Linked DNA regions of Homo sapiens: all the other regions are linked to region 1. Evidence: promoter capture Hi-C in 16 types of primary human blood cells and fetal thymus (Javierre and others, 2016). All regions are on one chromosome and are shown on one strand. Each heading gives the region's core, a stretch centred on a gene start or on the middle of the fragment in contact. The rest is flanking DNA. Distances are from core to core; before and after follow the strand shown.

Region 1 (3,247 bases), core at 701-3,200:
CTTGCCCGGCCCGCAATGTTTTTTCTTTCTTTCCTTCTTTCTTTCTTTATTTTATTTTTTTTTTGAGACGGAGTCTCGCTCTATTGCCCAGGCTGGAGTGGTGCAGTGGCGCGATCTCGGCTCACTGCAAGCTCCGCCTCCCGGGTTCACGCCATTCTCCTGCCTTAGTCTTCCAAGTAGCTAGGACTACAGGCGCCTGCCACCACGCCCGGCTAATTTTTTGTATTTTTAGTAGAGACGGGGTTGCACCGTGTTAGCCAGGATGGCCTCGATCTCCTGACCTCGTGATCCACCCACCTCGGCCTCCCAAAGTGCTGGGATTACAGGCGTGAGCCACCCCACCCGGTCTTTTTTTTTTTCTTTTTTGCCGGCCCGCAATGTTTTCTTAAACTTTTTATTTTTAGCTATCCTGTTGAGGTTCTTCCAGATGAATTTTAGCCTCTGACCCAGGGGTATGATTTGATAGGCGTGGAGTTCTGGTTACTTCTTAAATGAAGAGTTTCCCCAGGATATCTGAACAATTCTCTTGGGTGGAAGACTCAAGGATCATGAAAACGAAAACCAAATTCTAGTCGGCTCCTAAAGTCCTTTTGCCTCCTGCGGTTACCATCAAAGAGCTATGGTCAAAATTCCAAGGGATAATTCAGGGTCTGATTCCACTATATATCCCCAGACCGCCTATACATAAATCCATATTATTGGAGATTTACGCTTAATCCTATAATCTTTTACCTAACAGCTGTCCAGTAGAATTTTCTGGATGTCCAATAAGGTAGCCGCGTGTAGCTCTTGAACACTTGAAATGTGGCTAGTCCCCTAGAGGAACGGGATTAATTTAAATTTACATAGCTACAACTACTTATCGGTCACTGCGGTAATTGTTAAGACTGGTTTTGCCTGTAACTTGCATATGTTTTATTGGACATCAGTTTCAATATTTCATTTGCATTGCTAAAAGTCAAAATCCTTTTGACTTTGCCAGTTACTCAGTGAGAGGACAGTTGGAGCCAGTTTCTGTTCTAGGCTTACAGTTTTAAGGACAGATAAAGGTTAGTTTTTAACCTCGAGATGAACAGACTGTTAAGTTTCTACGGACTTGCCCATGGGGTTCCACAGTGAGCCTGGGCCGGGGAGGCAGGTACTGTGTCAGGGGGAAGAAAAAAGGGGCTTCTAGCTGGGCAGGTGACACACAGGGCATAGGAAGAGGTCAGTTCTTGTGGCCGAGGAGGTCCGGCCCGGGGGTCCCAGGAGCAGAGATCTCCCTTCTCTTCGATGTGGAAAGTGAGGAGGGAGCAGAGCCTTGCTCAGAAACGGAGCTCCCCCAATCCCCCACCGCCCTAGCTACTGGACTGGAACTAGGATGGACACGAATGTCCTTCTCATTGTACTAACTGCACTCAACAAGCGGGAAAGATGAAGCGAGGGGGTTTAAATGTGTGCGTTTGTTGAATGACCCACAAAAACTGAAGGAGCGCGGCCGGACTGATCACACTCCTTGAGACAAAGCGGGTGGGAGACCCAGAGGTGAGGAGGGTGGTCGCCTGTGGGCGAGGACTGGGAGGCCAGGGGTTCTCGGCGAGGCGGTCCCAGGAGGCGGCGCGGAGCCGCTGCGAGGCCGCAGGGCCGGGTCGCAAGATGGCCGGGCCGGCCTCCCGCGCGGGTCGCGCGGGCCACGCGGGCGGGTTTCAGATGTTCCGGGCCCGGGTAGGGGCTGGCAGGAGAGAAGGGGCCGGCTGCGGGGAGGGCTGGCTGAGAAGAAGCGAAAATGGGCGGTTAGCAGCAGGGACCCGGAGCCGGAGGAGCCGAGAGCAGCGCGTGCGCCGAGCTCTACTGCCTCGCGGGAAGGCGGAAGGGTGGGGAGGGCGGCGCTCGGGGCGGGAGGCCCGGCCGGGTCCGCTAGGACAGCGGGGCCGCTGGGAAGTTGTGAGAGCGGCGCTCGGGGGCGCGCTTGCGTGCACGAGGGCCCGGGCCGCGAGCAGCCGCGGCCGTCCCGGTCGCCACCCTTAGCAGCGGTCGCGGTCGGTGCCGAAGCGGTGTTCCCCGCCTTAGCCGCTGGCGCCTCCCAAGAGAGCGGCCGGTGGGCCCTCGTCCTGTCAGTGGCGTCGGAGGCCGGCGCTGCGGTGGCCGCGCCCTTCTGGTGCTCGGACACCGCTGAGGAGCCGGGGCCGGGCACGGCTGGCTGACGGCTCCGGGCAGCTAAGGCTGCCCGAGGAGAAGGCGGCGGCCGCGGCGTAGGCGCACGTCCGGCGGGCTCCTGGAGCCTGGAGGAGGCCGAGGGGACCATGTCCGGGAGGCGCTTCCACCTCTCCACCACCGACCGCGTCATCAAAGGTGCCTGGCGGGCCGGGCCTTCCTCTGGGACCCGCGGGAAACGGCCTTCGGCTGGGCGGCGGCTCGGGGCGGAGGGAGGCTGGGGCCGGGCTGCGCCCACCCTAGGAGGGCTCGGAGGGGTGTAGACAGAGCCGGGCGGCAGCCTCCGAGAGCAGCCACCCGGACCCGGCGTTTTCTGCTGCACCTGGTCAGGTGCCTGGCCGTCAGTGCCAAGTTCCCTCCCGAAGGGTTCAGGGTGCAGTGGGGACTTCTTCTCCCACCGCCCCGAAGGGCCCGGATCCCTGTCTTTTTTTCTCTTTAAGAAACGACTCGGGGGAAGCCATCGGGGGTGGTGTGAGCAGGGAGTCGACTCTTCCAAGTAAGATATTTAAGATTAGATCTTTCTTGACGTCCGCCCCCCACCCTTTTTTAGGACGTATACCATGTGCCTTTTGACCCGCTTTCTCTAGATCATTGCAAGTCACTGCTATTACTGGAATAAACTTAGTATGAACAAGTCAGATAAATCCATTATATGATGTTTAAAATAAGTTTACGGAGCTCTTGACAGGGTAATGGTATTTTATTTTCCCTTTGGTTATAAAGACTTGGAGAATGACGTTTTCTGATTCATATGTGTACCTGCGTTAGATTTCTGTTGTTGTTATAAGAACAAAATGTAAAGGGCTCTTTGCTCTCTAAATCTTGTAGAGTTTTAGGTTATAGTTGTTTCTCCCTTTAAACTAAGAAGATGGATTACACATAACCACTAATTTATGTGCTGCTTTTATTCAGCCGTAAGTCTTAGGCACAACCCTTCTCTCTGAGATTAACAATCGGTTTGAAAGCGCTATTTTGTAAGAAGGGAATAGACTTAGACCAGCTGTGTTAGTGGCCTCTGGATGCAGGGGTTAGCGTGACAGTGGGGAAAATTATT
Region 2 (2,992 bases), core at 211-2,710, 220 kb after region 1:
GGGTCATTCTTTAAAAAAACAAACAAGGCTGGCCGCGGTGGCTCATGCTTGTAATCCCAGCACTTTGGGAGGCCAAGACGGGTGGATTACTTGAATCCAGAGGTTAGAAACCAGCCTGGCTAACATAGCGAAACTCAGTCTCTACTAAAAAATGGTGGTGCATGCCTGTAATCCCAGCTATCTGGGAGGCTGAGGCACGAGAATCGCTTCAACCCGGGAAGTAGAGGTTGCAGTGAGCTGAGATGGCACCACTGCACTCCAGCCTGGGCAACAGGGCAAGAGCCTGTCTCAAAAAACGAAAAACCATGAACAAGAACATAATAGAAAATATCAGAGTGCATTGCACACATACTGTGTCAAACTTTTATTTCAAGTATAAGTGTGTGTGTGTGTGTGTGTGTGAGTTGTGATATCAAAGGTATTTCTAACTGTGAGTTGTGTTCAAAAAATTGTGGAAACTAGTCCAGGTGTGGTGGCTAACACTTATAGTCCCAGCCACTCAGGAGGCTAAGGCAGAAGGATTGCCTGGGCCCAGGAGTTTGAGACTGTGGTGAGCTGTAATTGCACTACTGCACTCCAGCCTGGGCAACAGTGAGACCCCCCGATTTGTTTAAAAAAAAAAAAAAAAAAAAAAGGAAACTATTGTCCAAGTTAGCATCCTTGGCTCCATTTTTTCTCTTCTGAGTTATCCTGCAGGCCACTGCCAAAATAATCTGACTAAATCATTGCTTTGGCCATGCCACTTCCCTGCTCAAAAGCCTTCAATTTCCAAAAGCCTAGGCTCAATTTCAAGTCCTCAGCATGGCACTGAAAGCACTATATAACGTGGCCCTGAGGTGGAGTGCCAATTCTCCCCAATGCAGCCTCTACCCAAACCACTACTTACCACCTCCAAGCTGGCCTCCTGACAGTCCGCACAAACACTCTTGACGCATTCTGACTCCACACACCTTTTTCATGCCATGCTTCTTACCTGGATCCTTCTCTCCCTCCCACTGAAACAGCACGTATTTGCTAAGTCAAGGTTCAGTTAAAATTACATCTGCTTCAAGTCTTTCTTGATGATGCCATACTGACATTTAGTGATCGGCTGTCCTTTTGAATCCCTAGCACTTTCCATACACCGGCTGAAGATAGAGATCGACTCATGCAAGTCTTTTAAATGTTCCTCAACATTTAGCACAGACTTTTGCACATTATAAATGTTGAACAAGCATTAAATCAACAAATATTTGTTGAGCACCATGTATGTGCATCACACTATACTGGGCCCTATTTGATGGATTAGCCACCAAAATCATGAGTTTGGGAAAACAATTCTAATAGGTTTAACAGCTGACTCTAAAGCTTACTCCGACAGATTTCCTTAAAGAGTATAATACATATAACACCTCTGACTAAGTAGCTGTGGGACTCAAGACACTTGACTCTTTCTGACTGCTCCAAGATCTGGAAGAAATCCTTCTCCTCTCATTAAACGCCTGAAATAAGAGCAAGCTCACATACAGAATCTCACAGACATTTTATAGGGCCCCTGTCTTCAAGGCATTACTATGCTCTCCACAGAGGAAGAAAAGCTTGGTGTGTCCAAAGTCACAGAGGACATGAGTGATGAGGCTGCCTTAGGCAGGGGCCCCATAGGTGGAAGAAGCTGAGCCAGTTACAGAACACCTAGAGGTCTGCAGGACACAAGGACTTCCTCTATCACTTATGTGTGAAGACTGTCAACTCCCTGTGATTCACTACCAACCTGCTAGTGTCAACACACCTTAGCAAAGTGAAACTCCGTGATCCAATCAGCTTGGGAATGGTCTGCTACTCTTCTAATATTCCTGATCATGGGGACAGAATACTCAGGAGACACATTTTAGTTCTAGTTCTTCCAGGTACTAGCTGAGTGAATTCTAGTAAGTTACCAAGGGGGATCATAAGACTGCACTGCTTGCGCAGACATAAGCATGAAGTCAGACAAAGGACGGGAAAGCCATCTGAAAAGTTAGAAGCACTCTACACATGTGAGACAGCAACGGTAATCATAGGGGAAAGGACTTCACTGAGAAAAAAACTGAATAATGGTTTTGTTTGACCCAGAAGTTTACCTTCTTTATATTCCATTCATTTAACAATTACCTGTTAGATACCCACTATGTGCATGATACCCACTATGCGTACAAAAAGATGAAGAAGCTCTATGTCGCTCCTGTTCTCATGGGGTTGGTGTGGAAGGGAGGTGTACGTCTGTGATACTCAGAAGGATGCAGAAGTGCTACAGGAGAAGCACTATGGAAGTACAGAAGAAACCCAGCAAAGCACTTTGGAGTGGAGGATCAGAAGGAGTGGGGAGGAGAAATCACAGGCAGCCTGACCTGGAAGCCACTTGTGTCGGTCAATTTAACAATAGTACTTTCAGAGGCTCTTCATTTTAGGAAGTGGTTTGTAGGTTCTGCAAGTTTTTATCTTAACATTTTTCCTGAGCTGAGGCAAGTCAGGAAAAGGGAAAAAAGGCCCCATTCATATATTTAATAAACACTTCCTGACTGCCAGGAACAGTGCTAGGGAATAGCAATGACCACAAGACAGTCCCCATACTCAAGAACTCACAGACAAGTAAACCAGCCAGCGGAGTACAGATGCTGATGAAGGTCAGAAGAGCGGCACCCAGTGCAGCATGGCAGGGTGTGAGGGGCCACTCAGGGAAGACCCTCAGAGAAGGTGAAGCGTGGCCTGACTCTTGAAGGATGAGTAGATGCTGGCCTAGTGGACAGGGTGTGAGTGAAGGGGAAACATTTCAGGCAGAAGGGACAGTTATCCAGAGGCACATGGGCACGAGAGAGCAGGAGAAGCTTGGAGGATGGAACACACGGAGTGAAGATGGACAGCCAGGCCCAGAGGGCCTCAGAAGCCCTGGCCCAGAGTTGGGCCTCTATCCTGAAGATGATGGCAAGGGACTACAGGGTGAAAACAGGAAAGAAACAAAAAGGATCAAACATGA
Region 3 (3,065 bases), core at 207-2,706, 190 kb before region 1:
CAGATCCCTGATGCACAAATTAGGTCTTATTAATAAGTGTGGGAAAAGAGAGGAGAGTCCACCTTCTTGGTCAGGCCCCTGAGGCATGCATTTCTACCAAGGAATATGGACAGATGACAGAGGAGAAGAGCCCAAAGCCAAATTTATACATGAGTGCAAGTGGATGCAAATTTGTTGCTCCCTGCATCTGTGTATATGCTTTCTGTTAAATACAGAAAGAAGGAACAATAGGCTTGCACACTTTTCTAACTACATGTTTAAGTGGCAGAGTCCAGGCTGTCGAGTCACGGTTGGGTTTGAATCTGACTCCACCAGTAACTTTGGTTGGAAAAAATCACTTATCCTCTTTAAGCTTGATTTTATTTATTTTATTTTATGTAAGAGTGAGACAGTAGTAGCTTAATAGGGTTGCTTTTAAATTAGAGTGAACATGAGGCATTTATTCGGTGCCAGACAGATAACTGCCTATAACAGGATGTGATCAGCACAAGTAACAGAAAATTAGCCTGACGGTGGCTTAAGCAATGGGAATGTTTATCTCACATAGCAAAAAGTCTGTAAATAGATGGTTCTAGAGTTGGGTGGAAGCCAAAATGTCATCAGGATTTCCTTGGAACCGTCTGCTTTGCCATCCTCAGTATTGCAGAATGGCTGCTCCTGCGCCAAGCATCATTCTGCAAATGATGGTGTCCACAGCCAGAGTGGACAGTAGTACAGGAGCCTTCTCATTCTGCCCTTATCCGGGAATAACCGTCAGCAGCTCCAGCAACCTCCCCCCTGTCTCTTTATAGAGTGGGGCCACGTGCCCACTCTTGGACCAGGCCCTGGCAAAGGGGGATGGGTCGACTAGTGTATCCCCTGGCACTGAGCACACTTGCCCTTGAGCTGGGGTTTTGTTAGTAGGGAGGAAGCTGGAGTGGCAGTTGGATAGACAATTCATAGTAGCTGCTGCCATGTTCAAAAAATGCTGCAATGTAAAATCATAAAGTATTCATCTAGGCATAACTTTTTAAAATATTCAGTCACCTTTTATTCTACTAAAATCAATTTTAACATTTTAGTGTATATTATTTTATTTTAGATTCAGCAGGTACATGAGCATGTTAGTTTTGTTTTGTTTTGTTTTGTTCTGTTTTGTTTTTTGAGATGGAGTCTCACTCTGTCGCCCAGTGGTGTGATCTTGGCTTACTGCAACTCTGTCTCCCAGGTTCAAGTGATCCTCCCGCCTCAGCCCCCCAGATAGCTGGGATTACAGGCACATGCCACCACACCTGGCTAATTTTTGTATTTTTAGTAGAGACGGGAGTTTCACCATGTTGGCCAGGCTGGTCTCAAACTCCTCACCTCAAGTGATCTACCTGCCTCAGCCTCCCAAGTGCTGGGATTACAGGCGTGAGCCACTGCGCCCAGCCACATGTGCGTGTTTGTGTATATTGCGTACTGGTGGGGATTGGGCTTCTGTCATACCTATCACCCAAATAGTGAACATTGTACTCAGGTAGCATTTCAACCCTTGCCCCCCCTCCCACTCACCCCCTTTTGGAGTGCCCAGTGTTTGCTATTTCCATCTTTATGTCCATAGGTACCCATTATTTAGCTCCCACTTATAAGTGAGAACATGTGCTATTTGATTTTCTGTTTCCGAGGTTAGGATAATTACCTCAAGCTCCATCCATGTGGCTGCAAAGCACATGATTTCATTGTATTTTATGACTGCTCATGTATATTATTTCAGCCTCCAAAATTTTGTATGTTATTTATAATGATATAAATTATGTGGTTTTATCGTGTACTCTATCTCACTCAGAAATACATACAATTCTTCGTTCCCAGCTACTCTGGAGCTGAGGTGGGAGGATCACTTGAGCCCAGGAGTTCAAGACCAGCCTGGGCAACATGGTGAAACCTTGTCTCTGAAAAATAAATAATACACACCCACATGCACACACATCCAGTTCTTCCATGTTAATGAGTATGTTGTGTTTCACATACTTCTGAATTAGCCGAAGGAATTAAAGGTAGCATCTTTTAATCCTCAGACTGCCCTGCGTGGTCCGATTGAATTGGGCAGTCAGCACTAGGCTCTTCAAAGGGAAACAGGCTTCTTTCTTAGGACGGTGCACAGTGAAAGAGTGGCACACACGCTGTTCATCCAGTGCTCCAACCCCCAGTCCTGGTGTCAGATACTTCTACATTTGGGGCATTTCCCCTTGAGATGGCTGTGGCTAGCGACACATGATGTGAACACCTCTCTTGGATTGTGGTTCGGCCGCACAAGGCCCCATCAGAGTTCTACAGGTGGAGTGTGGGGCCCAGAAGGGGCTCAGGTCTTAGGGGTGTCATCTGAAAAAACAGAGATGGTGATGGGACACCAGTTCTAGGAGCCCTCTGCATGGCCACTTTCTGCCTCAGCTCTTCTAAAGCATTTCTTCTGTTCCCTTCCATTGGGGTAACCACTGATCTGTCTTCCCAAAAACTGAGTCAGAAGTTGGACTTTGTTACTTGGCTCATCTACATTTAAGATATAGTCAGAAAAAAAATGCAGTCTTTACATCTTAAGAAAGCTTACATGGGCCAGGCGCAGTGGCTCACACCTGTAATCCCAGCACTTTGGGAGGCCAAGGTGGGCGGATCACCTGAGGTCAGGAGTTCGAGACCAGCCTCAACATGGAGAAACCCCGTCTCTAGTAAAAATACAAAATTAGCTGGGCGTGGTGGTGCATGCCTGTAATCCCAGCTACTTGGGAGGCTGAGGCAGGAGAATTGCTTGAACCTGGGAGGCGGAGGTTGCGGTGAGCCAAGATCACGCCATTGCACTCCAGCCTGGGCAACAAGAGTGAAACTCCATCTCAGAAAAAAAAAAAAAAAAATAGAAAGCTTACATGAAAGAAAAAGAAAAATGCAGTCTTGATCACTGTTGGCCTGGAGACTTTATCTTGTGTGTTTTCCAGGGCGTGCATGAGGTTTCACTGGACAAGTAGAAACCATTCTAGGTATTCAGAAAGAGTTAATACAAGAAGAGAAGTTTATAGACTCGTTGGAAGGCTGGAGGAGTGAGCCATAGG
Region 4 (3,096 bases), core at 136-2,635, 150 kb before region 1:
GAGCCATCATACCAACATCTGACATCTCTCTAGTGACAGTCTAGGGTTAAATTTAGGGGTGAGAAAAATGAAGGAAGATAACTGCAGTTTTATATCAATAATTTTAGGATTTATTACTATTTAAAAATAGTTTATATTAGTTTGTGTTCTCTCTTAATATCTTAGAGGAGTCATTAGCTGGAAGTTCTTAGCTGGAATTGTGAAAATGAGTGTTTTGAAATACCTGTGAAGAAAATGAGAAGATGAAGTCTCAGTTTTTTTAACTGAAAAATAATTGTGTATATGTATGAGTACAAGATGATGTTTTGGTATATGTATACATTGTAGAAAGATTAAGTCAGGCTAATTGACATATGTGTCACCTCACCTACTTACTGTTTTTTTGTGGTGAAAACATTTAAAATCTCTTTCAGGAATTTTGAAATACACGCTGTTGTTAACTATGGTTACCATAGATCACTAAAACTTACTCCACCTGTCTATCTGAAACTTTGTACATTTTAACCAACATCTGCCATTTCTCCATACCCCTCAACCCCCAGCCTCTGGTAGCCACCTTCCTACTCTCTGTTCACAATGAGTTCAACTTTTTTAGATTCCATATATGAGTGAGATCAGATGGTATTTGTCTTTCTGTGCCTATCTTATTTCACTTACCATAATACTCTCCAGATCCTTTCATACTGTCACATATGACAGGATGTACTTCTTTTTAAAGGCTATATAGTATTCCGTTGTGTATGTATACCACTTTATCCATTCAGTGGACACTTAGATTGATTCCACGTCTTGCCTGTTGTGAACAGTGCTGCAGTGAACATGGGAGTGCACATATATCTCTTTGACACACTGATTTCAATTCCTTTGGATAAATACCAAGAAGTGGGATTGTTGGATCATATTAGTACTATTTTTAGTTTTTTTAAGAAACTTCCATACTATTTCTTTTTTTTTTCTTTTGAGACAGGGTCTCAATCTGTCACCCAGGCTGGAGTGCAGTGGTGCAATCTCAGCTCACTGCAACCTCTGCCTCCAAGGTTCAAGCAATTCTCTTGCCTCAGCCTCCCTAGTAGCTGGGATTATAGGCAAGCGCCCCCATGCCTGGCTAATTTTTGTATTTTTTTTAGTAGAGTCGGGGTTTTGCCATGTCGACCAGGCTGGTCTCAAACTCCTGACCTCAAGTAATCCACCTGCCTCGGCCTCCCAAAGTGCTGGGATTACCGGCATGAGCCACCATGCCTGGCCAGAAACTTCTATACTATTTCTAAAGGTAGCTATACTAGGAAGGCTGAATTTGTGAAGGGCAGCTGCTAGTTGATGACACAAGAGGAAGAAGTGGAGTGAAAGAGAGGAGAAAGGAACAGTTAGGGAGAAAATATTCTGAAGGTATGTTATAAAGACCAAAGGAAGGACTCTTTTGAATGAAGGTAATGAGAAGGTGGTTGACTTTGGCCACAGGAAAAAAAGCAACTGAATTTGCTTGTTGAGGGTGTTGTGATCTTCTAGCAGTTTTGTTACAGTTGTAGAGAAAAAAAAGGAAAGATGAAAAGCACAAAGGAGGGCATAGGCCATGAGAAGTAGCCACTGACTTGGCCACTCATTTAAAAAGTTTATAAGAGGAATGAGAAATGGAATAATTATAGAAGGCAACAGGATTGCTGTAATAGTTTCTATGAGGTAAGAAAGCGGAGCTGAGCACATACAACAGGTAGAGGGAAGTAGCCAGAAAAGTGGGGGAAATTGGATCCCAGGAAACAGGCTTGTTGTGAAACATACAGCAAAGAGGTGAGCATTAAACAGAGGGGAGAGGGCTGCATGCAGTGGCTCACGTCTGTAATCCCAGCACTTAGGGAGGCCGAGGAGGGAGAGTTGCTTGAGGCTAGGAGTTCCAGACTGTCTTAGGTAACAACAACAAAAAATTTTATTTATTTATTTATTTTGAGACAGAGTCTCACTCTGTTGCGCAGGCCGGAGTGCAGTGGCACAGTCTTGCCTCAGTGCTACCTCCATCTCCCAGGCTGAAATGATTCTCATGCCTCAGCCTCCCGAGTAACTGGGATTACAACCACATGCCACCACACCCCACTAATTTTTTTGTATTTTTAGTAGAACAGGGTTTCACCGTGATGGCCAGAGTGATCTTGAACTCCTGGCCTCAAGTGATCACCCACCTCGGCCTCCCAAAGTGCTGGGATTACAGGCATGAGCCACCGAGCCAGGGCAAAAAAAAATTTTTTTTTAGTCAGGTGTGGTGGTACCCTTATAGTCCCAGTTACTTGGGGGACTGAGGCAGAAGGATCACTTGAGCCCAGGAGTTTGAGATGGCAGTGAGCTATGATCATGCCAGTGTACTTCAGCCTGGGTGACAAAGGAAGACCCTATCTCAAAAAAAAAAAGGGAGATGGGGAGAAGTCTTCCTCTTAAAATGGAGTGACAAATGTTAAGGAAACAAAGGGAGAGTCACTTGAACTTGGGAGGTGGAGATTGCAGTGAGCTGAGATGGCTTCACTGCACTCCAGCCTGGGCGGCAGAGCGAGACTCCGTCTCAAAAACAAATGTGTATATATGAAAGAATATACACTGACGTGCTAAGGCAGGTGTCCTTTGGTGGTAGGATTTGGTGGTTTTTATTTTTTTATGACCTATGGTTTCTGATGTTTCAGCTGCGAGCAGGTCTTCTTGAGTCAAAGTTCTAGGCAGATAGATAATTTTTAATATGCCCGCTAGATGGAGCAGCAGTTACTGGGTAACTAGCACCTGTTGCACAGCTCTGGTAAAGATTGCAGTTTGAGTCAAGTTAAAGGAAAATCCTCTTCATTATTTTCCAGCCCCAATGTGGAGTGCAAAAGCATGAGGTTCGGCATGTTGAAGGACCATCAAGCTGTCACCGGCAACGTCACTGCGTTTGATGGATCTATTCTCTATCTGCCTGTTAAGCTTCAACAAGTGAGACCAAACAGGAAATGGACTTTGAGATGAACCCTAAGAGTGCTCTGGCGTTTTTTGTTTGGTTTTGCTTTTAAGAGATTGGGTCTTGCTATGTTGCCCAGACTGGTCTCGAATTCCCAAAGCCCTGGGACTACAGGCGTGTGAGCC
Region 5 (2,957 bases), core at 82-2,581, 170 kb after region 1:
ATGTGCAGAGTGGGGCCAGGGGTAGTAGGAAGTAGGTCATTCTGGGGCAGCAACTTTTATTTATTTATTTAGTTTCTCAGCTTTTAATTTATGAAGGACTCAGCCACATTAATGTTTTGCATGGAAGCCAAGCTTTATTTTGAATTCCTGGCTTTGGGATGCAGAGAACAATGTCTCCATTGAGCTGCTACTGCTGTGCTGTGGTTTTTAGACAGGTGTACCCAGCTGGGCTCTGCTGCTGCAAGTCCTGAGAGGTCAGCCCCTGGTGCTGCCTTACAACCTCCTGACAATGTACAGGAAGCGGAGGAAAGTGGCCACACAGTGTACAGCGTTGAGTGGACCATAACAGTTTAGCTAGAGGCCGACAGCATTCCTGCGAGCTGGAGAGTTGTCAAAGTGGCTTTGGCATGGGTCTTCTATTAGAAACATGGGCTACTGACATCCCATCGGGGCTAGAGAAGAAGGCCACTTTTGGATGGAGATGCTCATGCACATGGAAGTGACCAAGGCCAACAGAAAAGAGCAGGCATCATGATAAATCTCTTCAGCTTAGTCACTGGGGTGTGAACAGGGAAATGACCCAGGCAGGTCTAAAAGGCAGAACAAGAACCTTCTGGTGAATACAATCAACTCAGTTACCCAGGCACAGAGAAATGGCAGTGGGTTTTATTTCTCTCATGTGACATGGGGGGTTTTCCCCTTATCAGTCTGGCACGTTATAATGAATGGTCTAAAGGTTTTTTCTCCTCAACTATTTTTATTTATTGTACCCATATCTATTGCACTTATAACGTAGTTATAGTGTAATACTGTGGTGACTTATTATAAAAATGTGTAAAGCAGTACATGCTATTATATAAAATTAAAATAATATAAATACATAAAATTAAAATAATATAAATACGTAGGCCAGGCGCGGTGGCTCATGCCTGTAATCCTAGCACTTTGGGAGGCTGAGGCGGGCGGATTACTTGAAGTCAGGAGTTCAAAACCAGCCTGGCCAAGATGGTGAAACCCTGACTCTACTAAAAATACAAAAATTAGCCAGGCATGGCGGTGGGTACCTGTAATCCCAGCTACTCGGGAGGCTGAGGCAGGAGAATTGCTTGAACCCGGGAGGCAGAAGTTGCAGTGAGCTGAGATCACGCCACTGCATTCCTGCCTGGGCAACAGAGCAAGACTCTGTCTCAAAAAAAAAAAAAAAAAAAGTATATATATGTGTGTGTGTGTGTGTATGTGTGTGTATATATGTGTGTATATATGTGTGTGTGTATACATATGTGTGTGTGTATATATATATGTAAAAATATGTGTGGTTTCTACCTTCTTTCTCTTTAAAGGTAACTGTTGTTAACAGGTAGGTATTAAAGAATTTTAGAAAATAATTTTGAAAAGGAAAATCTCTTGCCACTCTTTTCTCCTGTGTTCTAGTTTTTATCTATACATGTGCATACTTTTTGCAATTTTAATCTTACAGTTCAAATTATTTTTGTGTATTTATAAACAGTTTTCCATATTGCAGCATAATCCTGAGTGTTTTAATGGCTGCGTGATTGTTTGTATTTACTATGAAAATTTGGGTATTGCTGAGTATGTATTTGGTTTTTTACTCTCAGTTTATGCTGCTTCATATTTTTCCACTATGTGTAGTCTTTCTTCTTCTTTTGAATTAACTTTCTTGGGACAAATTTTCAAGAGTGTAATTACTGGAGCAAATGGTTTGAGTGTTTTTATGACTTTAATGTGTATTATTAAGGATTTGTAACTGTCTCTCTTTTTTTTTTTTTTGGTGAGACAGAGTATCGCTTTGTTGCCCAGGCTGGAGTGGAATGGCGCGATCTCGGCTCACTGCCACCTCCGCCTCCCCGGTTCAAGCGATTCTCCTTGCCTCAGTCTCCCGAGTAGCTGGGATTACAGACGTGTGCAACCACACCTGGCTACTTTTTTGTATTTTTAGTAGAGATAGGGTTTCACCGTGTTGGCCAGGCTGGTCTTGAACTCCCGACCTCAAGTGATCCGCCCACTTCGGCCTCCCTAAGTGCTGGGATAACAGGCGTGAGCCACCGCGCCCAGCCTTGTAACCGTCTCTTCTAATAAAATTTACTTTTTTTTTTTGAGACGGAGTCTTGCTCTGTCACCAGGCTGGAGTGCAGTGGTGCAACCTTGGCTCACTGCAACTTCTACCTTCTGGGTTCAAGCGATTCTCCTGCCTCACCCTCCCAAGTAGCTGGGACTGCAGGCACGCACCACCAGGCCCAGCTAATTTTTGTATTTTTAGTAGAGACGGGGTTTCACCATGTTGGCCAGGATGGTCTCGATCTCTTGACCTCGTGATCTGCCCGCCTTGGCCTCCCAAAGTGCTGGGATCACAGGCGTGAGCCACCGCGCCCGGCCAAATTTACTTTAAAGGACGCATAGCATGGATCCATATATGCGTCTCTTGTTTTTAAAAGAAAAATCATTTTTTTCTCATTTCAAAAAAATCACGTTAACTATAATTAATGAAGTGCAGAAAAATAGAAAATTATTCGTAAGCTTTCCAGAGGCTTCCATCATTAATATTTTATTTCCTTTCAGTCTTCTAAAGTTGTTTTTGCAGTAGCTGAGGCCTACTGTGTATACAATGTTGCAGAGTGTGCTTTTTGCTTAACAGGAATGTTTATTAAAACAGTAAATATCCATTTTAATATCTTTATAACATTCTGTCATATGGCTGTTAGCATGGATTCTTTTTCCATTTATTGAATGTGAGGGATTTCGATTGTTTCCAGTTCTTTTAGTTCAGTTTGTATTGAATACATATAACAATGTGGTTTCTTACTGTTGGTGATGGGTCAACCTCTAGTGATGACTATGACTCCAAGAAACGCAAACAGCGGGCTGGTGGAGAGCCCTGGGGTGCTAAGAAGCCAAGGCATGACCTGCCTCCTTACCGGGTCCACCTCACTCCTTACACT
Region 6 (3,127 bases), core at 65-2,564, 200 kb after region 1:
GACCAACATATGCACACCCAGATTCTTTGGACTTCAGCTGAGAGCCTCCACAGATGGTCAGCCTCTGCATGAGAGGTCAGCGCTGAGTTGGTCAGCACCCTGCCTCTGCATGAAGCAGAGAGGCCCCACCCCCCAACTTTTTTTTTTAACAGACAGGGTCTCAGTCTATCACCTAGGGTGGAGTGCAGTGGTGCAATCAGAGCTCACTGTGGCCTCGAACTCGTGCGCTCAAGCAGTCCTCCTGCTTTAGCCTCCCAAGTAGCTGGGACTACAGGCGTGCATATTTTTTGGTAGAGTCGGGGTCTCTCTTTGTTGCCCAGGCTGGTCTCAAACTTCTTGCTTGAAATGATGCCCCCACGTTGGCCTTCCAAAGTGTTGGATTACAGGCGTAAGCCACTGGACCCTGTGAGGGTGCTTTTAACTTGGGCCTGTTTCCTCTCAAGTGACCTTACTCTGGATTTGCTAGAGATGGAGCCATTGGTCAGATGTGTGCCAAACTTCTCACCACACTGAAGCAATCTCTTTCCTGTACTTTTGAGAGCTCTGCCAAGGAGGGGAGAAGCTAGTAAGACAAGGAGAACCGTCAGGGGCTGGGATGACAGACGAGGGCCTCTGCCGCCAGCACAGCACCGGACTTCCTGTAGCTGTCACATCAGAGAGGCTCTACAGTTGTGGTCTCCCATGTTAAAACCAAGAGACCCACTCAGATTTGTGGGTCAGGAGGTTGAAAAGGCTATTTTGCACCGGGATTCCAAAACACTGGGAGGGCTTCACTGCCCAGGGAAGCATGAGGCAATGGAAAGAGTATCAGCCAGGGGCTCACGCCTGAGTTCTAACTCCAGCTTTGCCAGTGTGGGGTTTTTATAACTTGAGGAAGTCATTGCAACTTTCCACGGGCCTCATTTTCTTCATCAGGAAAAATCAGGAGGTTGGACTAGATGGTCTCTATGAGCTTCCAGCTCTAACTTCCTAAGAATCTATGATTCTCTTCCTTTCCCATTCTGGAGATAAAAACTTTCTAGGGATAAAAACTGTGGGCTTAAAGGGGGGTGGGATTCAATCTTCCTTTCCTGCTGAGTGACTCTGGGTCATGGCCAAGAATGCATTTGGAAGTTGACACAAACAGGCCGAGGCCACTGGGAAAAGCTTCCTGGAGTTTTCTGCAGCTGAGGTAACAGAAATAAATGCCTGGGCAGTGTCTTTGGTGGGGGCCACTCTTTCAGGAACACTCTTAGGAAAAGTATAGACCACAAGCCAGTCCCTAGAGGTGGACCGTTCTAAAGCAATATCTTCCTCTACATTTTTGTAATCCACCCATTCCCCCTGCCCAAGGATGATAAAGAGCCCAGGCTAACCTTTCCTAGGGGAAGTGTCCCAGGACAGGAGGCCCCTCTAAGCCTCAGTCTATGTGAGGTTCTAGATCCGCATAAGCAGGAAGAAGGCCCAGGTTGCTGTCTTCCCAGCCCCAAGATGTGTTGATTCAAAGCTTTGATTCTTATGCAAAGGCCATGTGATACAGAACTGAATCTCACAGCAAAACAATCGAGTTACTCACTGTTTTGGGCACAATCTGTTTCTTGGGCTGCCCAATCTTAAAAGGAATCCTATAAGAGAAAGAGACAAAGAGAGATATTGTGAGAAGTGGGGAAGGATGCAGCTCAAAGTATCAGTACAGTACAGGCCACTTTCCCCCAGGAGGGCGAGGAAGCGTGGCCATGGCTTGCTACTTGGACCATGTGCCCTGGTGGGCATACAACCATTGGCATCTGGGCTTGGTTCTAAGAGAGAGATAGGTCCTCCCACCTACAGTGTCAGATGCAGGTTGCTCTGCCCCAGAACATCTTTGCTACTGATAGTCTGTCATTTAAAGAAAATGAAAAGGTGAGGCCAAGGAGTTTGAGGCTGTAGTGACCTATAATTGCACCACTGTTCTCTAGCCTAAGCGACAGAGCAAGACCCTATCTCCAAAAAAAAAAAAAAAAATCCGCTGGGTATGGCAGCTCATACCTGCAATCCCAGCACTTTGGGAGGCCCAGGTGGAGGACTGCTTGAGCCAGGAGTTCAAGACTAGACTGGGCAATATAGCAAGATCCTATCTCAAAAAAAAAAACACAAAAAAACAACCACCAAAAATTAGCCGGGCGTGGTGGCACATGCCTGTAGTCCCAGTCACTTGAGAGGCTGAAGCAGGAGGATCACTTAAGCCCAGGAGTTTGAGGCTGCAGTGAATTATGATCATACCACTGCACCCTAGCCTGGGCAACAGAGGGAGACCCTGTCTTTTAAAGAGATAAAGGAAGGGAACAGAAGGGAAGAAAGGGGAAGGGGAGGGGGAGGAAAGGAAAGGAAAGGAAAGGAAAGGGGAAGAGAGGAAAGGCGAGGATGGCAGGAAAGGGAAGACACCCGCGAGGATGGCAGGAAAGGGAAGACACCCTGTGAATGACAATAAAACCTTGTGTCTTGAGGAGGTGCAAACTCAGAAATTACAGACTCACTGTAATAGCTATCATCCTTGAAATCACGAATCATTATGGTCTATATTAGGTGCTTTGCTACTTCTCTATAGAGGGGCAAACTTTGGATCTGCAAATCTTCTTTGGAGGCTGGGGAGAGTTAATAAATAACAGAGGCATTAGTGATTGGCCGGGCTGGATTATTTCCCTGGGAAAACTCACAAAATCAAAAAGCTGCTAACTTGGAAAATAATCTGAAATCCAGCCCAAGTCTGCCTTGGACTTGCTATGAAGAGCTGCACCTCAGATTCCCTACTTTACAGCATGGCACAGCGGAAGGAGGATCATGGGTCTAGGAGTCTCAACCTGAGCATTAGCCTGGCCTCCGCTTCCACTGAGCAGGCTGCCCTTCGGCAGGTGACGGCTGCACTGGGACTCCATTTCCTGCTGCATAAAACGAGTAGATTAAACTAGGTAATTTAGGAGCTTCCTTGAGGCACTGAGCATTCTATGATTCTCCAACTCCAGGAAGAAAAGAGGCCAGGCTAGAAAGTGCATCCCAATGGCTATGGAAAGGGTAGACTCCCGATCCCAGGTAGGAAGTGAGTCAAGAATCCCTGCGATCAGCTCCGGCAGAGGGCTCTCAGCCAGCCATGCTCATCCCTCTCCTTTTG
Region 7 (3,032 bases), core at 246-2,745, 130 kb after region 1:
CCCTCAGGGCTGGCCCAAGGGCAGCTCTGACCAAGGACAAATGCAGGAAGCCTCAGGTTGGCCTCAGCCTGAATCAAGGTGACCAACCCACCAGGCTTCACATGGCCTCTTTCCCCAGAGTGGGCGGGCCCTGTGCAGGTCTCATCTTCAAAGGATGGGCCGTCCCCAGAGAGAAGAGAGTGGCCAGAAGCCCCCTGCCCTGCCCCAAGCAGGCTTTGAAGCCTGAGGAGTTGGGGGGCTGCTTGGGCAGCCCCTTGACCTGGCAGCCCACCCTTCCTGATCTGATCCCAGTACAGCTGCCAGCCAGCTGTACTGACCCACCCAGGACCATTAAGCACTAGCCTGTGAATGGCCCCTACCTTCTAGTGGGGGAGGGAGGGAGGCGGTGCTTGGAGATGCATTCAAATTTACTGGATACACTTTTGCTTTGGAATTTTTTTACAACTACTAATAAAGTTTTGCAAACCTATGCAGACAAGAAGAAAAAGTACCACTTTTGTATTAGGAGCCACAAGCGCTTTGAGAGGAATGGGCGAGACCTGTGCCCTTTCCGGTATGGCAGCCACCGGCGGCATTCAGCTGTTGAAATGTAGCTCAAATGAAATAAATTAAAAATCCAGTTCCTCAGTTGCACAGGCACATCTCAAGTGCCCAACAGCCACAGGTGGCGAGTGGTGCCCATTTTAGTTAGTGCAGGTCAGGGAAGGCTTCCTGGAGGAAATGAGGGAGCTGGGCCTGGAAGGGCAGGGGAAGGATTTGGGGAGGCCAAGAGGAAAGGGAGGTACTCGGGGCAGAGGACGAGGGTGGGGGTGGGACGAGCACGGGCTGCCCCCAAGGAAGTCAGGGTGCCAGCCTGGAAGGGGAGGCCCAGGATCATCCATTCACCCAAGGTCAGGAGTGACGTTCATTTCAGTTTATATTCCTATTTTTCTATATATAGGAATATAATAATATTTATTACATTTCTGTATTTCTATATTTCTCCATTCCCTCTTCCTCCCAGGCTGGAGGAACCAGCTGGGGGGTGTGGGGATACACAGGTGTGAGCCCTGGTCCTTTCCACCAGGCGCTCTCCCCAAGGGCTGCTCCAGAGGCAGGGGTGTGCAGGGAAAAGGGGCAGGGCTCTGAAGGTCGGCAACCCCGGCCTGGGTCCCCAGTGACTCCATCAGTGACCCTGGGGTGGTGCCAGTTTCCTCCAGGGCGTCCTTCTCTTCATGGCACGAAGGAAAGCAGCCAACAGAAGTGCTGGCTTTGGGGAAGCATCGGGTGCCAGGCCCCCCAGATGCTTTGCCCGCTGGGGTTCCCCCCCCTCCTCCTCTTCAAGACACGAGTTTCTGTGGGGCTGAGAGGCCTGGATCGGAGTCCCAAGCTTACTCCTAAGCGTCGGGGTGCTCTCGGGCAATGCATTCAGCCTTCCCATAGGCCTTCCCACCCATCTCTAAGTGAGGGTGCCCTATTAGACCAGGGACGTTTCTCCCGATTTCAGTTCTGTGATTCCTCCTCCTGTGTCCCCACTTTGCGGAGGAGGGGGGGAGTGACTCTGCTGTGTACAGTGTGATGCACATTTGTTGATTGCTCAGATTCTTTGGTGGTTGAGTGTGGGAAGTGTAGCTTTGCCCATCTAAGCTTCTGCCGCTAGGGGGCAGGAAGGAGGAGAGCAAATCCAATTCCCTCTCTGGGCTCCCCTACAGAACTCCCCTACAGTTCTGGGCACTGCCGGCAGGGGGCAGGCCCTCACCCCTGCATCCCTGTTAAAGAAGGGAGTGGGGAAAGCTCTTCCTGCCTTTCCTCTTTCAGGTGTCTCCCGGAGGACCCAGAAATTCGGAACGTTCCCTGGAAATTACGTTGCCCCGGTGTGAGTGGTCTCCATGGCAACTTGGAGCCAGCCAGGATGGGGTGGGGAGCGGTGGCACTCGTGGGAGGGAGAGGACCCCCGCCCACATCCTCCTTCCCCAGGACCTGAGCTCCCAGCATCTGCAGACGACCCCCGCAGCCTTTCCCTCGGACCCCCCTCGAAGCCCCCTGGACTGATTCCCACCCACGACTCACAGGCATTCCTCCCACAGCCCTTTCATTTCCTCCCCACCCCACTCCCCAAATACAGAGGTCTGCTTTGAAGCGGAGACCATTTCCAGGCCTTATTGAGACCAGACCCCAAGTCCCCCACCCCCATCCTGCTCCAGCGTTTCCTCTAACAGGGACCAGCTCTCCGCTTTGCCCCCACGGGGTTCCTCTAACCAGAACCAGCTTCCTAGCCTCGTAGAGACCAAAGGCCGCCCCCGCCTGCTGGGGTTCCTCCCAGCACCCCAGCTTGCTGGCTGCCCTCTTTGCCTTCTGGCCTCCAGCTGGGTGTGGGGGGGCGGAGCAAGGCGGGGGACAGACGCAGCACCTTCTTAGCGATCTAGGCCTGGCAAGAGCTCTGGCCCCAAGGCCTCCTCTTCCCAGGGGCTGCCAAGTCCTGGCCCTGGCCCTGGCATATCACCCCGCACTGTGGGGCCAGGCACCACTAGCCTGGCTCAAATATTCCCCAGGGAGACTGCTGTGTGCTGCCCGCCTGCCTGCTGGCTCTCCCCCAGCCCCACATCCCCTCTGGAAGAGAATGTAAAATAAACCTGGACACAAGGGACCTTGTCTCTGCGGCCTTTTCCTTGGGGTAGGGGATGCCTCCTCCTGTCTAGGAGATGGGAATTCCTTCTGTGGAGGGCTGTGCTGGGAGACAGGTGGGACAGGTGTGTGTGTAAGAGGAGGAGGATGGAAAAACACCATTATTACCTCCAAAGATCTCTGCCCTTGGGTGTCAGGCAGGTTGCGGCAGCCCCCACAATTGGGCAGCTGTGTGGCAAGAAGTGCTGGGAGAATGAACAGTGCCAGGCCCTGGTAGCAGGGAGACACCAGAGATGGGGGACTGAATGTGGCCTTGTTTGCAGACTGTTTTGATTCTGGAGCTGCCACCGTGGGGTTGCTGGGCTAGATGACATTTCTAACTATTCTGCTGTTTTCCTTCTGTGTGCTCTGTTTCCACACCGAAGCCC

Evidence for each region. Contacts are between HindIII fragments. The CHiCAGO score rates a contact against its expected background, and 5 or more counts as called.
Region 2: a fragment that was not itself captured here is called in contact with the fragment with the promoter of PPP3CC in region 1 in 1 of 17 cell types (M1 macrophages); the score reaches 5.4 in M1 macrophages.
Region 3: a fragment that was not itself captured here is called in contact with the fragment with the promoter of PPP3CC in region 1 in 1 of 17 cell types (endothelial precursors); the score reaches 6.1 in endothelial precursors.
Region 4: a contact is called between a fragment that was not itself captured here and the fragment with the promoter of PPP3CC in region 1, in 1 of 17 cell types (endothelial precursors). The highest score is 5.6, in endothelial precursors.
Region 5: a contact is called between a fragment that was not itself captured here and the fragment with the promoter of PPP3CC in region 1, in 4 of 17 cell types (naive CD8 T cells, endothelial precursors, non-activated CD4 T cells and 1 more). The highest score is 5.8, in naive CD8 T cells.
Region 6: a fragment that was not itself captured here is called in contact with the fragment with the promoter of PPP3CC in region 1 in 1 of 17 cell types (total CD8 T cells); the score reaches 5.6 in total CD8 T cells.
Region 7: a fragment that was not itself captured here is called in contact with the fragment with the promoter of PPP3CC in region 1 in 16 of 17 cell types (megakaryocytes, total CD8 T cells, endothelial precursors and 13 more); the score reaches 28.0 in megakaryocytes.

Annotation. Positions count from the first base shown.
Region 1 is chr8:22,439,128-22,442,374 of GRCh38, forward strand. PPP3CC (protein phosphatase 3 catalytic subunit gamma) reads left to right here and starts at 1,951. Exons shown (of 14, transcript NM_005605.5): 1 at 1,951-2,331. The coding sequence starts at 2,283. RefSeq lists silencers at 1,534-1,723, 1,814-2,473. The HindIII fragment of the contact is 13,070 bases long and covers 1-3,247 here.
Region 2 is chr8:22,662,829-22,665,820 of GRCh38, forward strand. All of the region lies in intron 1 of BIN3 (bridging integrator 3), which reads right to left. Among named protein-coding and RNA genes, the nearest start is that of BIN3, 4.8 kb to the right of the region's middle. The HindIII fragment of the contact is 230 bases long and covers 1,346-1,575 here.
Region 3 is chr8:22,252,564-22,255,628 of GRCh38, forward strand. It overlaps POLR3D (RNA polymerase III subunit D), which reads left to right. Exons shown (of 9, transcript NM_001722.3): 9 at 1-2,038. It overlaps PIWIL2-DT (PIWIL2 divergent transcript), which reads right to left. Exons shown (of 2, transcript NR_134293.1): 2 at 2,013-2,343. Among named protein-coding and RNA genes, the nearest start is that of POLR3D, 9.0 kb to the left of the region's middle. The HindIII fragment of the contact is 2,212 bases long and covers 351-2,562 here.
Region 4 is chr8:22,284,700-22,287,795 of GRCh38, forward strand. PIWIL2 (piwi like RNA-mediated gene silencing 2) reads left to right here. Exons shown (of 23, transcript NM_018068.5): 7 at 2,829-2,946. Among named protein-coding and RNA genes, the nearest start is that of PIWIL2, 11 kb to the left of the region's middle. The HindIII fragment of the contact is 3,099 bases long and covers 1-2,935 here.
Region 5 is chr8:22,610,172-22,613,128 of GRCh38, forward strand. CCAR2 (cell cycle and apoptosis regulator 2) reads left to right here. Exons shown (of 21, transcript NM_001393997.1): 8 at 2,846-2,957. Among named protein-coding and RNA genes, the nearest start is that of CCAR2, 6.9 kb to the left of the region's middle. The HindIII fragment of the contact is 2,403 bases long and covers 131-2,533 here.
Region 6 is chr8:22,643,200-22,646,326 of GRCh38, forward strand. BIN3 (bridging integrator 3) reads right to left here. Exons shown (of 9, transcript NM_018688.6): 2 at 1,556-1,604. Among named protein-coding and RNA genes, the nearest start is that of BIN3-IT1, 2.6 kb to the left of the region's middle. The HindIII fragment of the contact is 340 bases long and covers 1,145-1,484 here.
Region 7 is chr8:22,572,870-22,575,901 of GRCh38, forward strand. It overlaps SORBS3 (sorbin and SH3 domain containing 3), which reads left to right. Exons shown (of 21, transcript NM_005775.5): 21 at 1,798-2,919. The coding sequence ends at 1,859. Among named protein-coding and RNA genes, the nearest start is that of PDLIM2, 6.1 kb to the right of the region's middle. RefSeq lists enhancers at 1-393, 1,459-2,177 and a silencer at 1,567-1,716. The HindIII fragment of the contact is 257 bases long and covers 1,368-1,624 here.